Regions from separate parts of the Homo sapiens genome. Here all the other regions are linked to region 2. Evidence: promoter capture Hi-C in 16 types of primary human blood cells and fetal thymus (Javierre and others, 2016). All regions are on one chromosome and are shown on one strand. The core of a region is centred on a gene start or on the middle of the fragment in contact, and the rest is flanking DNA. Distances in the headings are between cores, read along the strand shown. Region 1 overlaps RHBDD1 (rhomboid domain containing 1). Region 2 holds the start of WDFY1 (WD repeat and FYVE domain containing 1). Region 3 overlaps IRS1 (insulin receptor substrate 1).

Region 1 (4,401 bases), core at 1,432-3,931, 2.9 Mb before region 2:
TTCTATTATAAAGATACATGCATGCATATGTTAAATGTGGCACTATTCACAATAGCAAAAACATGGAATTGACCTAAATGCCCATCAATGATAGATGGATAAAGAAGATGTGGTACATATGAAATATTATGCAGCCACACAAAGGAATGAAATCATGTCCTTTGCAGGGACATGGATAAAGCTAGAAGCCATTATCCTCAGCAAACTGACATGGGAACAGAAAACCAAACACTGCATGTTCTCACTTATAACTGGGAGCTAAATGATGAGAACACATGGACACAGAGCAGGGAGCCACCACACACTGGGGCCTGTCAGGGAGGTGTGGTAGGCAGGGAGGAACAATAGCTAATGGATGTGGGGCTTAATACCTAGGTGACAGGATGATCTGTGCAGCAAACCACCATGGCACATGTTTACCTATGTAACAAACCTGCACATCCTACACACGTACCCTTGAACTTAAAAGCTGAAGAAAAAAAAATTAGCTGGGTGTGGTGGCACATGTCTGTAGTCCCAGCTACTAGGGAGGCTGAGGTGGGAGGATCAACTGAGCCCAGGAGGTCCCGGCTGCAGTGAGTCAAGATCACACCACTGCACTCCAATCTAGGTAACAGAGTGAGACTCTGTCTCAAAAAAAATAAATAAATGAATGAAAAATGAATACGCCTTGAAAGAAAAAAACAAGAAATTTCCTTCAATATGTTAGGATGAGGGCGACTACATGGGCAGTATGCACAAAATTCATTCCTAGGTTTGTTCAAATTTAGAATCACAACTGATTCATTGCAACACACATAATTGCAATATTGCTGGTATCAGTAATATATTTTTAAAAAACGTAGTGAAATTTTTTTCACAGTATTGCCCAAGAGACTTTTTACTTAAGAAAAAAAAAACCCAAATTATATGTAGTTGCCAAAACACACATACACACAAGTCCACACACACACCCCTATATATTATTTATAAAACTGAAGTCATTGTAAGTAACATTTATATTTATTTCATTCATTACTATCCTGATATTGTGACTTTGCATTAAAAATGCATAAGCAAGTTAACACCTGGAGAAACAGCTGTTGGTGTAATGACAACATTCCTAGAGCTAATGCCAGAAGATCTGGGGTCAAATATGGAGGCCATCATGTACTAGTATGTGGCCTTGGGCAAATCATACAACCAGTACTGTAGAGCTTCTGTTTCTTTATCCATAGATGGCAAAAAATTCCACTTACATTCTAGAATCACCATCAAGAATAAATGAAATAGGGTATTATGTTAAAGCGTGCAGTGCATCACCAAGGTTTTTCACTCTCCTTTCCTCTCCTTAATGAGATTTTCCTGCCCTTAGAGCTAGATTCTATTACTGTGTAATTATGAGGTGCATGTAACAATGTCCAAGAAACTAGATGGTAAATAACCCCAACATGCAAACCGGAATGCACACATTGTTAGTTGGCCATCACGTAGATCCCAAAGGTCTCTTGCCCATTATCTGTTGCTTCCCAGAAATTTGATAGATTTTCTTTCCTGAAACAGCCAAAGTTATCTATGGGCTTTGAAATATCACCATCATGATATTGCCACAAAGCAGCTGGTTGATTGAAAGTAACTCCCCCTCCCCCAAGCTCCAGCTGTCACCAGGAAACCCTCTTCAATGTGTGAAAAAGACAATGTAATATCACTAACTACCACTATTAGTAACAATCTAACAAATACTTAGCATTTGAAATTATTTTTCTTATGAAGGCTCATTATTAACTAAAAATTAACTCTAAAAAAACACTTTACTATATAAATATAGAGTAGTTGCTTCCATACAACAAAAAAATGATAGGGCTATAAACACAAGTAATACACTTCCTTTGACTCCTTGTTTCTTTTTCCCCGAGTCATTTGTAATCCTAAACAACAGTCAGTTAAAATGCCAAATAGCTTTTAATAGCGATACAGCTGTCACAACTTGGAGGGATTTTTTAAAAAGCTAATTCCTCAAAAAAGTGCACAGAATCCTACTTTGTAAAATACGGGTCAGGTGGGTTTTTTTTTTTCTCAATAATCACTCACTCCTCTGCATGAGAAGCCATCCATATGGTGACATGGCTGACAACCTTGGAAATTGTCTTCAGAACAAGTTTGTGAATCCCACTTACCAGAATTCTTAATACCATTACGTTTTAGGTATAGCTCATGCCCTGAGGATTTCTATTCCACCACAGAGTTTCACGTCCAGCTCCCCGGAATCCGAGGTTCCCTAGGCACGCCTCCTAATATCGCTGCCAAGGACCAAGAGCCTGTGCCCTTCAACCTCACTGTTCTTAAAGCTTCTCGGCTCCTGAGTTTTACAGGTAAGATTCTGTTTAAGAGGCTCCCTGTTGAAAAAAAATATGAGGTCCATTGCTTACGTGGCTATGACTGCAACATAAAAGGAAATCTACCTTTTAAAGAATCGCTTCCGTTTTTAATAGTTTTTTTAAAGAACATTTACATATACATGTACGTATCTAATTTTACATATATAGAAAATTTCCTTTTATACTTGGTCCCCACCCCCATATTCCAATATACTGACAAATAAAATTATGACCTAGTGTGAGTCAAGTATTTTCTGCACTCATACATTCATATACAATATAAACACACAGAAATACATGTAAGAGATTTTGTTATCCCTTATTAAAAAATGTAATGTAAAACTTTTCACTTTGCTATTAAGAATTCGTGTTTTAAAAAAATATTAGCAATTTCAGGGCTAACAGCATTTTCTCATCCTTTGATGCATACCTTCAACGAGGTCTCATTTCCTGTAACAGTGTCCCCTTCTCTAGCTGACTGTCCCCATTAACTAACAGAAGATACTTTATTACTCATCCCCTGACCTTTGGATGTTTACCTTGCTGTAAACATCCAAAACAATTTCTACAAGTTGCTCTGTTACAGTGATAAAACTGAAGATGGTGTTTTTTCACGTTAAAGTTTCAACTTTTTTCAAGTGTTTGTTTTTTCTCATTCACAATAATATGAAAGCTTTGACTCCATTTCAGCATTTTATGGTTAAAAAGAAAAGCAGTGCAGTTAGGTAATAAAATTACCTCATTTATAAAAATATTATAAAATGAATGGCATAAAGTTAGGTTTGAGACAACAAATACCTTTTTTCCCTTTGTCCGACACACAACATTTACTGAGCCTCTGTGCCTAAAACAAGGTGGACGTGTTTTATGCGTTATTTCATTTAATTCAATGGCCTGAAGTAGCACATCCTATGACTCCTACTTTACAGAAATTCAAGTGGGGAGGATGTTAATTTGTCTAATGTACACAATCACTAAGTAGCAGAGGCAAGATTCAGAGCAGGGCTTGTCTGACCTAAAACCACAGATAGCGATCTGCCTCTCCGATGAGGAGAACAAAAAAAAATATTTAATGCCTTCGAAAAATAAACATTTCATGATGGGGCAGTGCCAATTTGGTGGCAGAGCTAACGAAATTATTTCCAGAATAATCCATTCAAAGTGACTTATGTTTATCTGAAAACTCTCTCAATATCCAGGAGCCATGGTATAGCCTTGGGAGCAGCGTGCTCTCATCAAAACGACATGTGTAGGCCACGGTTTGGCACTGACCTTCTCAACATTGCAGTGAATGTAGCCTTTAGAGCAGCTGCTTTAAATCCTGAATATTTCTTTCTCCCCCTACAATGGACCCCTGAAAGAGATAAAGTTGTAAGAAAATACTGCATCTAAAAAACACAGCAGGTTGAGGGCACTCCTGTGATCCTTCCTGAAAATGGAGGTATCTAGAGTAGACATGAGATCTTTGCTACCGTGGAGTTGTACGACATATGGGAAACAAAGATAAGGACAGAAACATATTCAGCCTTGGCTTTCGCTTGCAAGTCACTATGTTACAATAATTCTCAACTCTAAAACTAGTGCTTACCTCTGGTCTTTACCAAATTCTGGGTCAAAGAAGGTATAACTAAACTGAAGACGAGGCAGGTGGATTACCTGAGGTCAGGAGTTCGGGACCAGCTTGGCAAACGTGGTGAAACCGTCTCTACTAAAAATACAAAAATTAGCTGGGCGTGGTGGCAGACGCCTGTAATCCCAGCTACCTGGGAAGCTGAGGCAGGAGAATCGTTTGAACCCTGGAGGCAGCGGTTACAGTGATCCAAGATTGCACCATTGCACTCCAGCCTGGGTGGCAGAAAGAGACTGTCTCCAAACAAAGCTGAAGAGATCAGAAGGCCAAAGAATTAAAAACTACTCTTCAACATAAATACTAATGCTATTCTTAAAAATCCTACAACCACAATAGCATTAGTATGCACTGCTTTAACTTTTAACTGAATATCCTGCATCCAACAACCTTGACTACACAGAATTGAGAATCCCG
Region 2 (4,402 bases), core at 1,508-4,007:
TCCAGCCTCACGGGGTGCCTGGCTGTCTCTACAAAACCCCTGGCATGTGCTCACCTCAATGCCTTAACACGTGCTCTTTTCTTTTCCAGAAAAGTATTTGGCCCACATTTCCACATGGCTTACTCCCTCCTCTCCTTCTTGGCTCAAAATGTAACTTTACAATGAGGCTTTTACTTGTCTCAGGTTGCATTCTCCAGCAGCAGATACGGTGATAGAGGTTGGCTCAGAGGGTGTTTATTAGGAATCAATGCCTGTGAAGGGAGGGGGAGGTACCAGGATTAGGCAGGAGAAGTCAGCTGCAGTACACGCCTTACAAAGCCTTGTCCAATCTAGGAGAGAGTTCTAGAGCAAGTGTTGCTCATCGGTCTGTCTTGATGGTCAGGCCTTTATCCTCCTATCTTGTTCAGTTACTGAATGTGGGCTTCCCTGTGAAGGGAACAACTGAGACCCAGTGGTTCTCAGCAGCTGGGGCAGTCCCTGAAGGAGCTGAAGGCTAGAGGCTCTCTGCTGACCACTGTTCTTCCCTGAAAGCAGATCTGTGCAGTGTATTCCTGAATCTATCACACCATCTATTTAAAATCGCAACATCCCCTAGAGTCCCTATCACCCTTCCCTGCTTTATTTTCTCCATAGCATTTAATAGCATTGAACATCTTCTAATATATTATATAATTTAGTTTACTATCTGTTTCCTTCACTGGGATGTAAGTTCTAACAGCAGAGGGATTTTTGTCTCTCTTGAGCACTGCTGCATTTAGAATGGCACCTGGCTCACAGCAGGCACTTGGGAGATGTTGGTTGATTAAACAAAGTTGTTCAGTAGCGTGTCTAGTCATTACACTGTACAGCCTCACAAAAACCATGTCTTATTAATCTCATCAGCAACAGCATATAGTAAGTGTGCGATATATGTCTGTTGAATATAGGAATAAATAAATTCATGAATGTTTGTTAATAACTTCATCATGAGAAAGTATTAGTACAATGGTGGCTCCTGCCCGTAATCCCAGCATTTTGGGAGGCTGAGGTGGGCAGATGATTTGAGGGCAGAAGTTTGAGACCAGCCTGGTCAACATGGTGAAACCCTGTCTCTAGTAAAAATACAAAATTAGCCAGGCATGGTGGTAGGTGCTTGTAATCCCAGCTACTCGGGAAGCTGAGACAGGTGAATCCCTTTAACCTGGGAGGCGGAGGTTGCCGTAAACCGAGATCGCACCACTGCACTCCAGCCTGGGTGACGGAGTGAGTTCGTCTCAAAAAACTAAAACAAAACAAAACAAAAACAAAAAGAAAGTTCTAGTAAATCACTGTACATAGAAGTACCATCTGATTCACATCCATAATTTAAAGTTTTTATTAGCTACCTTAAAAAAATAAGCAGGTCATATTAATTTTAATAGTATCTAACTCAATATATCCAAAATAGTATCATTTCAACATGTAATCATTGTAACAATTATTGATGAACTATATTACATCTTTTTTGTTTTGTGCTAAGTCTATAAAATCTTGTAGTATTTTGCACTTGTACTACATCTCAGTTTGGACAAGCCACATTTCAAGTGCTCTATAGTCATGTGGATAGTACGGTTCTAATGCAATTCTGCAATTCAGGTGTCAGAATAATATAGTGGGGCAGAAGTTTGGAGTCATTGACTTCCTGAGTCCAAATTTTGGCTCTTGAACTTACTGGTTGTCAATGACCTCTAGCCAAAAACCACCAGGAACAAATGGGGTTGATTGCTTGTTGGAGGGAGAAGACACACCATTGGGAATGGTGAGGTGTCTGGGTAAAGGGATGTTCGGACAGTTTTATTATAGGATTTGTGTTTGTGTTAGGTGACCTGGGAGAGCTTAAGGAAGAGAGGCTCTCCTGTGGACTGGATGTTGTCAGGAAATGCGTATAATTCTAAGGTTGCATATCTTAATAAATCTTATCTAAATGGAGGAAGACTAGATAGCGGTTAACATTATAATTAATAAAGAAATAAGAGTCACTCATATTAGCCAGGATAGGGGGATGTTTGGTAATTTCTGTGGCTTGTACATCGCTCATATTTTGGCCGTGTTTAGATGTGATTATGGAGTGGCCTCGTCTGATGTTTATGTTCCACAGGAAGCAAACACTTCCTAGCAACACCAAAGCTCAGCTGATAGTACCAGGCAGCTCCTGGAGATCAAGGGCTGCTTTTCTCCCTCTCATAGCTGTGCAACCTTAAGGTAGTGATCAAACTTCTCTGGTTGTTTTCTCATCTCTAAAATGGGAATACAAGAGCATCTATTTCATCTCTTAAAATTATCAGTATTAAATGAGATGCAAAGACACTGAGTTAATGCCTGGTATATGGTCACCACTCAGTGCTATCTATTGTAGTTCAAAGATTCTAAGATGCACTATATTTTTTCACATTTTAACATTTCTGAAAGTGTGTGCCTTTCAAACAATGGCTTCTTCAAATGGATGAAATGTAGTATTGTAATTTCTGAAATCTCTGGTTTGGGGGACAATTCCTTGTCCCCTCCAGGTGCTCAATTTATTCCTGGGTGAATGGCTTTACTTTTAAACCTTCCTTACTTTCCCCATTTCTCCGCAGGCGCCCCGTGGCATCCTCTCCCAGCCACAGACTTTCAGCTTGCGCGGCATCCCCAGGCAATACGGGCGGTGCGGCGGCAGCACTCGGGGGCTTACGGCGGCGCGGCGCCCAAGAGGCCCCAGCAGCCGAAGGGAAACCGGCGCGTCCCCCGCCCGCCCAGGCGTCAGCTGATGGGCTGCCTGCCGAGGAGGCCGCAGCAGTCGCCGCGCGAACATGGCGGCCGAAATCCACTCCAGGCCGCAGAGCAGCCGCCCGGTGCTGCTGAGCAAGATCGAGGGGCACCAGGACGCCGTCACGGCCGCGCTGCTCATCCCCAAGGAGGACGGCGTGATCACGGCCAGCGAGGACAGGTAGGGCCCGGGCGCAGCCGGGGCGGCCCGAACTCCGCGACGACGGGGTGTGGGGGCGGTGGGGTCCGCGGCCCCGGTCCTTCCTGCGTGAGGGGGCTCCCCCGGCAGCACGGCCCCACCCCCACTCTGCGCCCCTTAGCTCCGCCGGGTTCCCGGTTCCCTCCCGCCGGTCCTCCAGCCTCGACTTGCACCTTTCCAGCCTGGGACCCCGGTCTCGCCGCGCCCCTCCAGCCCGGATCCCCTGTCCCACCGCGCCCCTCCAGCCCGGGAACTCCGTCTCACCGCGCCGCCCAAGCCCGGGACCCTTGTTCCAACGTGTCTTTCCAGCCCAGGACCCCTGTTCCAGTGCGCCCTACCGCGCCCCTCCCAGCCCACCTCGCCCCTCCTGCTCAGGACCCCTGTTCCAATGCTCCCCAACGCGCCCCTCCAGTCCGGGACCCTTGTCCCACTGCGCCCGTCCATCCCGGGAGCTCCGTCCCACCGCGCCCCTCTAGCCCGGATCTTCTGTCCCACTGCGCCCCTCCAGCCCGGGAACTCTGTCCCACCGCGCCACTCAAGCCCGGGACCCCGGTTCCAGTGCGCCCCAACGCACCTCTCCAGCCCAGGACCTCTGTCTCACCGCGCCCCTCCAGCGCGGGAACTCTGTCTCACCGCGCTGCTCAAGCCGGGGACCCCTGTTCCAGTGCGCACCAACGCGCCCCTCCCAGCCCACCGCGCTCCTCCAACCAGGGAACCCCGACCTGCGGTGTCGCACTAGCCTGGGACCTTCGTCCCGGTCTCTCTCCCTGGCGGGGTTTAGCCTGGTACTCGGAAGGTGTTTCTTGGCCCTCCCGGGTCAGTTCCAAATCGTCTCCTCTGGAAGCGTGGAGGACCGGCGGCTGGTCACTGCGGACCCTGGTGCCCGGGGCTTGCTTCTTTGCGAGGAACTCCAGCCGCCTTCGCTCTCTTCCTCCCCCTGTACTCAGGGATTTCACGCCACGCCAGGCCTCTAGATCAGTTATTTTTGCCACGGCTGCTAGAATCACCTGAACTCTTATTTACTAAATAGGTTTTTGTGAAAGTGACTCATTTTTAAAAATATTTGGATGCATTTATTTTAAAAGGAAATCTTATTTATTAGGAAAACTAACATTACTCACCAGACAGAGTAAACTAATAACTAAAACATGTTAATTGGCATGCACACAGAGTCCTCTCTTGCACTGTGACATCTTGCATTGGACGCCCACCATGCTTTTGGGAAACACTGATTGGGTCCAGTTTTCTCATTTCTCCTAAGAGGAAGCCGAGGCTGGTGGAGGTGTAGCTTGCTGCTAAGTTACAGAGATACTGGTGAAGCCGGAAATGCAATCCAGAACTCCCACCAGCTCTGGGCCTGAGTGATTGGATTGGAACAGTATTTATGATTCGACTTTAAACTTTAGCGTCTTTCAAATCCTAAAGGTTTACAATGTCAGT
Region 3 (4,628 bases), core at 1,904-4,403, 2.8 Mb before region 2:
AATTGAGAGCCCAAGAAGCAGGGCAAAAAGAGCCTCTCAGACTCGGTCATAGCAGCCCTGCCACCTTTACCTGGCATCAAATTTATCTTTTAGTTTTGAAACTGCAGCTGACAAAGACACAGACCCCAGCCATGCCTTTTGGGTTCAGTTTTTTTGTTTTTGTCATTCTTTGTTATGCCCTCCCCCTTTAAAAGAAAAAAGAAAAAGAAAAAAAACAGAAAAAGACTCTTTCCATTTCTTTTTCATTCAGTTTCCTTTTTTGTGATGTCAAGGATTCCGTACCTCCAAGGTTGCCTCCCCTCCCTCCCCTTTCCCCAGCCCTGTGGCCTTTTTGGCTGGCGCAAACCCTCTCGGCCCTGGCACTTTCCCTTTTCCGGGTCACCTCCGCTTCCTGCATTCCTTCTCCTCCCTCTTCCGAGCCCCCTTTCGCCCGGGGTGGGGGAATCTGCAGCCAGACCGCCCTCGGGTCTCCCGCCCCCGCCCGTCTCGGGTCATCCAGGGCGGTGGGGCCCCTTCCCGGGCCGCGTGGTCGGCGCTGGCGGGCGAGGCCCCGCCCTCGGGCACAGCCGCGCGGCTCTGGGTCCCGGGCGGGCGGGGCGGTTGGGCGCTGATTGGCCCCCACCACAGCCAATCAGCATGTGAAACGGCTGAGCCGCGGCGGGCGCGGGGCGGGGCTCTCCGCGGGTCCCCTGGCGGTGGTGGCGGGCGGGCGTCCCTGGGCCGCTTTCTGCCACCCTGCCTGGCACCTCTTTCCCGCGGGTGCCCGCAGGCCGAGCCGCAGGCCCCCTCTGCACCGCGCCCGCCGACTGAGGACGTTGTGCCCTCAGCTGTATTCTTGCATTTGGATCAGAATCCTAAGAATGAAAAAGTCCAACCAGCCCACGGACGGGGGCCGGAAACACACACTTGCTCTTATTTTTAATTGAGAAAAATCCAGGCCGTAACCATGTGACGAGCCCCATTTTGTTTCCCTTCTCTCTTTACTACGGTTTACTACGAGGCCACGTTCCTTCGTCTTCCGGTCTCGAGATCCGCGAGCAGGAGGGAGTCCCGCACGTGGCTGCGGGCCTGCGGGCCAGGTGGGGTTGGCCCGCGATTCCTGCCCGCCCCCCTCAACCAAGGGAGGGAGAGAGACCTGCGAGTGCTGCGGATGCCATCGTTTTGGGTCATGGGGGGAGGGGGAATTCCTTTGGCTTGAAAGTGCCCTAGGCTCCATACACTTTACTGCAAAGCACCAGAGCTAGGTAAGAGCTGGGAAAACGCATCCTCCTGGGCTGTGAGGGAGCTCACAGCGAAATGAAAGACGGGACTGCAGCTTGCAGATCCTGAGAACCCGGTGTGACAAGGGTTTGGGTAGTGTGTTCCTTAAAGGCTTGGAGGAAATGCTGTGGCGTTCTCAGACACAGATTCATTTTTCCATCATTGACAGTCCCAGTGACAGCCCGTCAATTTAGGCTGGGCACATCGATTTTGAAAGCTTGCTAGATTTGTGTTGTGTACCCTCCAGTAACCAAAATTATGTGAGATATATTACTACATGGGATGGAAAATGTGTTCAGATTTGGCCTTTCTAAAATAAGGAAAATAAGAAAGAAAAGTGCTATGGGAGTATTTTCTCCTCCTCCTCCTTCCCTCTCAAATAAGCATTTCTCACCAGCCAACATCCCTCTTGCATCACTGAATCATAAGATCCCAGGGCAGCGCTTTTTCTGAGGGGCCAAGTGAAACATCACAGGTGGAAACGTACCAAGCAGGTGCAAATGTTATGACCCAAAACTGCTACTGAGCAGTGGGAGAGAGTTTCTCTGTTGTTCCAGAAAAGTTTGAGCAGCTAATAATTTGCTTAATGTTTGCAATTGTTTAGGTATCTTTTTATAGTAAAAATAAATCCATAAAATGTTGCATATATTGTAGTCATTTCTCTGAGTTCCCCCTCAATAAATACTATCTCCAGCATTGCCCTACAGGAAGAGACTTGGGATCCAAAGGGCATGCCACCTTTTTTTTTTTTTTAAATCACAATTCCAGGAAAATAGCTTTGTGCTATCTTAAATGATGCAATGGAAAAAGCAGTTCTTGGGAGCCAGAGATCTTGGGCTCCAACACAGCCTGTGCCCTTCACTAGCAGAGTGACCTTGGGCAAGTCACTTAATTTCTCTGGACCTATTTCTTCATCAGTAACTTGAGGATTTTGTTCTAAATTATTCTAACCTCCTTTGCAGCTCTAAACATAGGAATGTTGTGGAGAAAATGACTGATACTCTTTAATGGGTCAGTTGCAATGAGGATTCTTTCCGAAGAAGCTGTTGACAGGGTCATGATAAAGCATGAGAATAGCCTGTTCTGTCCATTTCTAGCCTTTGGATCAGACATTCTTTATGGACAGACTGGGGCCTGGAAGGAAAACATTGTTTGATTCAGGCCTGACATTAACTTTTCTTGCTTCAAGGGGGCATTTTCGAGTTTTAACAAACCCTAAGACAAACCCTCCTGATCGACCAGCCTAAGTTTTTGGAACCATCTCTAGACTGAATTATGCTCCTCTTCCTTCCGCCTTTTTAAAAATAAAATGTGTGTGGGAATGCAAGGCACCTGCTAGTTCCTACATCCTAAGGTCAGCTCTCAGAAACATCCCACCCCTCCCCACACTATAGAGTAAGCTTTAACCAGTGCACACTGTGGAAATTAACACATGCATCCTGTTGGAAATCACCTCTTTTTCAGGGGTGGTGTGTTTGTGGATAATGTGTCTCATTTGTACCATCAGTGTTCTTCAGTGAGACAGCCATTTAAGTGAATGGTAAGGAAATTTGAGAAGCCAACTGGGGACTATAGGAGGCCTTCCACAATTTTTTCTTTAGCTTTATTTTTCTCTCTTAGGTGTATGAAACAACTCAATATTTCTCTTGCTGGCAAAATTAGTGTTGTCCAGATTTTTTGTGCTTTAGGGTTTTTGATTAGTTAGTTGAGCCAACACTGCTTTTCCAACCCTGTGTTATCTTGACTGTTGAGTTGCCAATATATTCAGAAGCTCCGACCTTTTTTGTCCCTCCATGTGGATTTCACAAGTCATTAAAATAGTCTGTTGCCTCTTAAGAAACTCCACGGACTTATGCTTTTCCAATCCTCTCACTATAATCAGATATGTGTCTTAGCTGAATAGTATATAAATGGTTCCTTTTATTTTGATGGGTTGGTAATTTAGTATATTGGAACATTTCACAGTTTTAAGGTTTTGTTTTGTTTTAAAGAAAGCCATTTCCTCAATTATTTCCTCATGTTACAAAGTTACTGGAAATTGTATTCAAGGAAAATAGCTTCTTGTGAATCATGCTTGAAGCCAGTTTCACACTAAAGATCCTGTAACTTTTTTTCATACTAGTATTTTTTTGCATGTAAAATAATAGATCCTGCCTCTACCACATTTATAATTATGTAACTGATTTATTCCTTCGTTACCTTATTAGTCCATAGCTATGCAGCAGACTTTGAGAGCTGTCTTTAAAATGTTATTGAAACATGTTCAGAAAGTGTAATCATATTGAATTTTAACTTAAAATTACATTTTAACGTTAGTATGATATAATAATTGCATACTAATTTCAAACTAATATGACATAGTTACAAAAATTTATTGTAAAGCTTTTTAAGAAGATAGGTTAGTAAGTATCATCTATTTGCTTCTATTTTTGTCTTATACTTTGGAAATGGTAGTACCTCTCCCATTCTTAATTCACAAAAAGGGAGAAGATGGATTGGACAAGTATAAGGTACTGTCATGTATGATAAAAGGAACACTTTCCATTTTAATAGTATTCTTGCAGCAGGCTCTGCTATAATCTATTTGTTGAAATAAATTTGGTTGGATAAATGTTATTTGTGCTTATTCAGTGAGCCAGTGATCTTTGAATAATAGAGCTTTGAAAAAGATGTATTTATGTTGAAAAGGCTTTTTGACCCTTTTTCTGTATTTTCCATTGATAATGGCAGTAGAGTTGAATACATGGGTCAGACTATGATTCTAGTTGCAGTTTTCTTAAAGCAGAGTAGAGATTTTGTGGTTTTATTACTCTACCAGGAATGTTTTATTGAGTAAGCTGAGTTGGATTGCATTCATTGTATTCCTTTTTACCATCCCAAGTTTTATAAATATTGCATATTACATATGTATCCTTGCACTCCACTTTTATTGTTGACCAAAGAATACTTTAATGCATGTTCTCTGATCCTCCCTGACATATTTAGGTCATATTGCTGAACAATATCACTTAATCTTGAGAAGTTTTCTCACGTTTGTTGAAATGATCAAAGAGACGTTTTTTTTTTTGAATATATGTAATGTGGCAAACAAATTATGTTTTGCACAGAAAGTCATGATTTTTACTTTTAGGAAGGATATGATCTAAGTGAGCTAGCAAAATAATAAAAGACATTTATAAACATTTAGCAGTTAGTTAAAGGCCACTGGAATATTGAGTAATTGCTAAGTAGTCAACTATAATTTATCTAATCTTCTCCAATCATCATGTCCCTATTCACTTAAAAATTATTTGGAGGGCTCTATGGATATGAAAAATAATTATGTTTACCCTTGAGTTTTAGGGGTTGTGGGGACAATCAGAAGATCA

The links. Contacts are between HindIII fragments. The CHiCAGO score rates a contact against its expected background, and 5 or more counts as called.
Region 1: a fragment that was not itself captured here is called in contact with the fragment with the promoter of WDFY1 in region 2 in 4 of 17 cell types (naive CD8 T cells, non-activated CD4 T cells, total CD4 T cells and 1 more); the score reaches 14.6 in naive CD8 T cells.
Region 3: a contact is called between a fragment that was not itself captured here and the fragment with the promoter of WDFY1 in region 2, in 1 of 17 cell types (naive CD4 T cells). The highest score is 6.2, in naive CD4 T cells.

The regions. Positions count from the first base shown.
Region 1 is chr2:226,837,383-226,841,783 of GRCh38, reverse strand. RHBDD1 (rhomboid domain containing 1) reads right to left here. Exons shown (of 9, transcript NM_001167608.3): 2 at 3,630-3,711; 3 at 2,157-2,375. Among named protein-coding and RNA genes, the nearest start is that of RHBDD1, 3.5 kb to the right of the region's middle. The HindIII fragment of the contact is 703 bases long and covers 2,330-3,032 here.
Region 2 is chr2:223,943,690-223,948,091 of GRCh38, reverse strand. It overlaps WDFY1 (WD repeat and FYVE domain containing 1), which reads left to right and starts at 2,757. Exons shown (of 12, transcript NM_020830.5): 1 at 2,757-2,944. The coding sequence starts at 2,808. It overlaps LOC124907989 (a long non-coding RNA gene), which reads right to left. Exons shown (of 2, transcript XR_007088100.1): 1 at 3,685-4,402; 2 at 1-251. RefSeq lists a silencer at 3,006-3,185 and enhancers at 3,756-3,815, 3,826-3,945. The HindIII fragment of the contact is 5,306 bases long and covers 1-4,402 here.
Region 3 is chr2:226,787,719-226,792,346 of GRCh38, reverse strand. The region is part of intron 1 of IRS1 (insulin receptor substrate 1); the gene reads left to right. Among named protein-coding and RNA genes, the nearest start is that of IRS1, 9.8 kb to the left of the region's middle. RefSeq lists a silencer at 259-948. The HindIII fragment of the contact is 982 bases long and covers 2,663-3,644 here.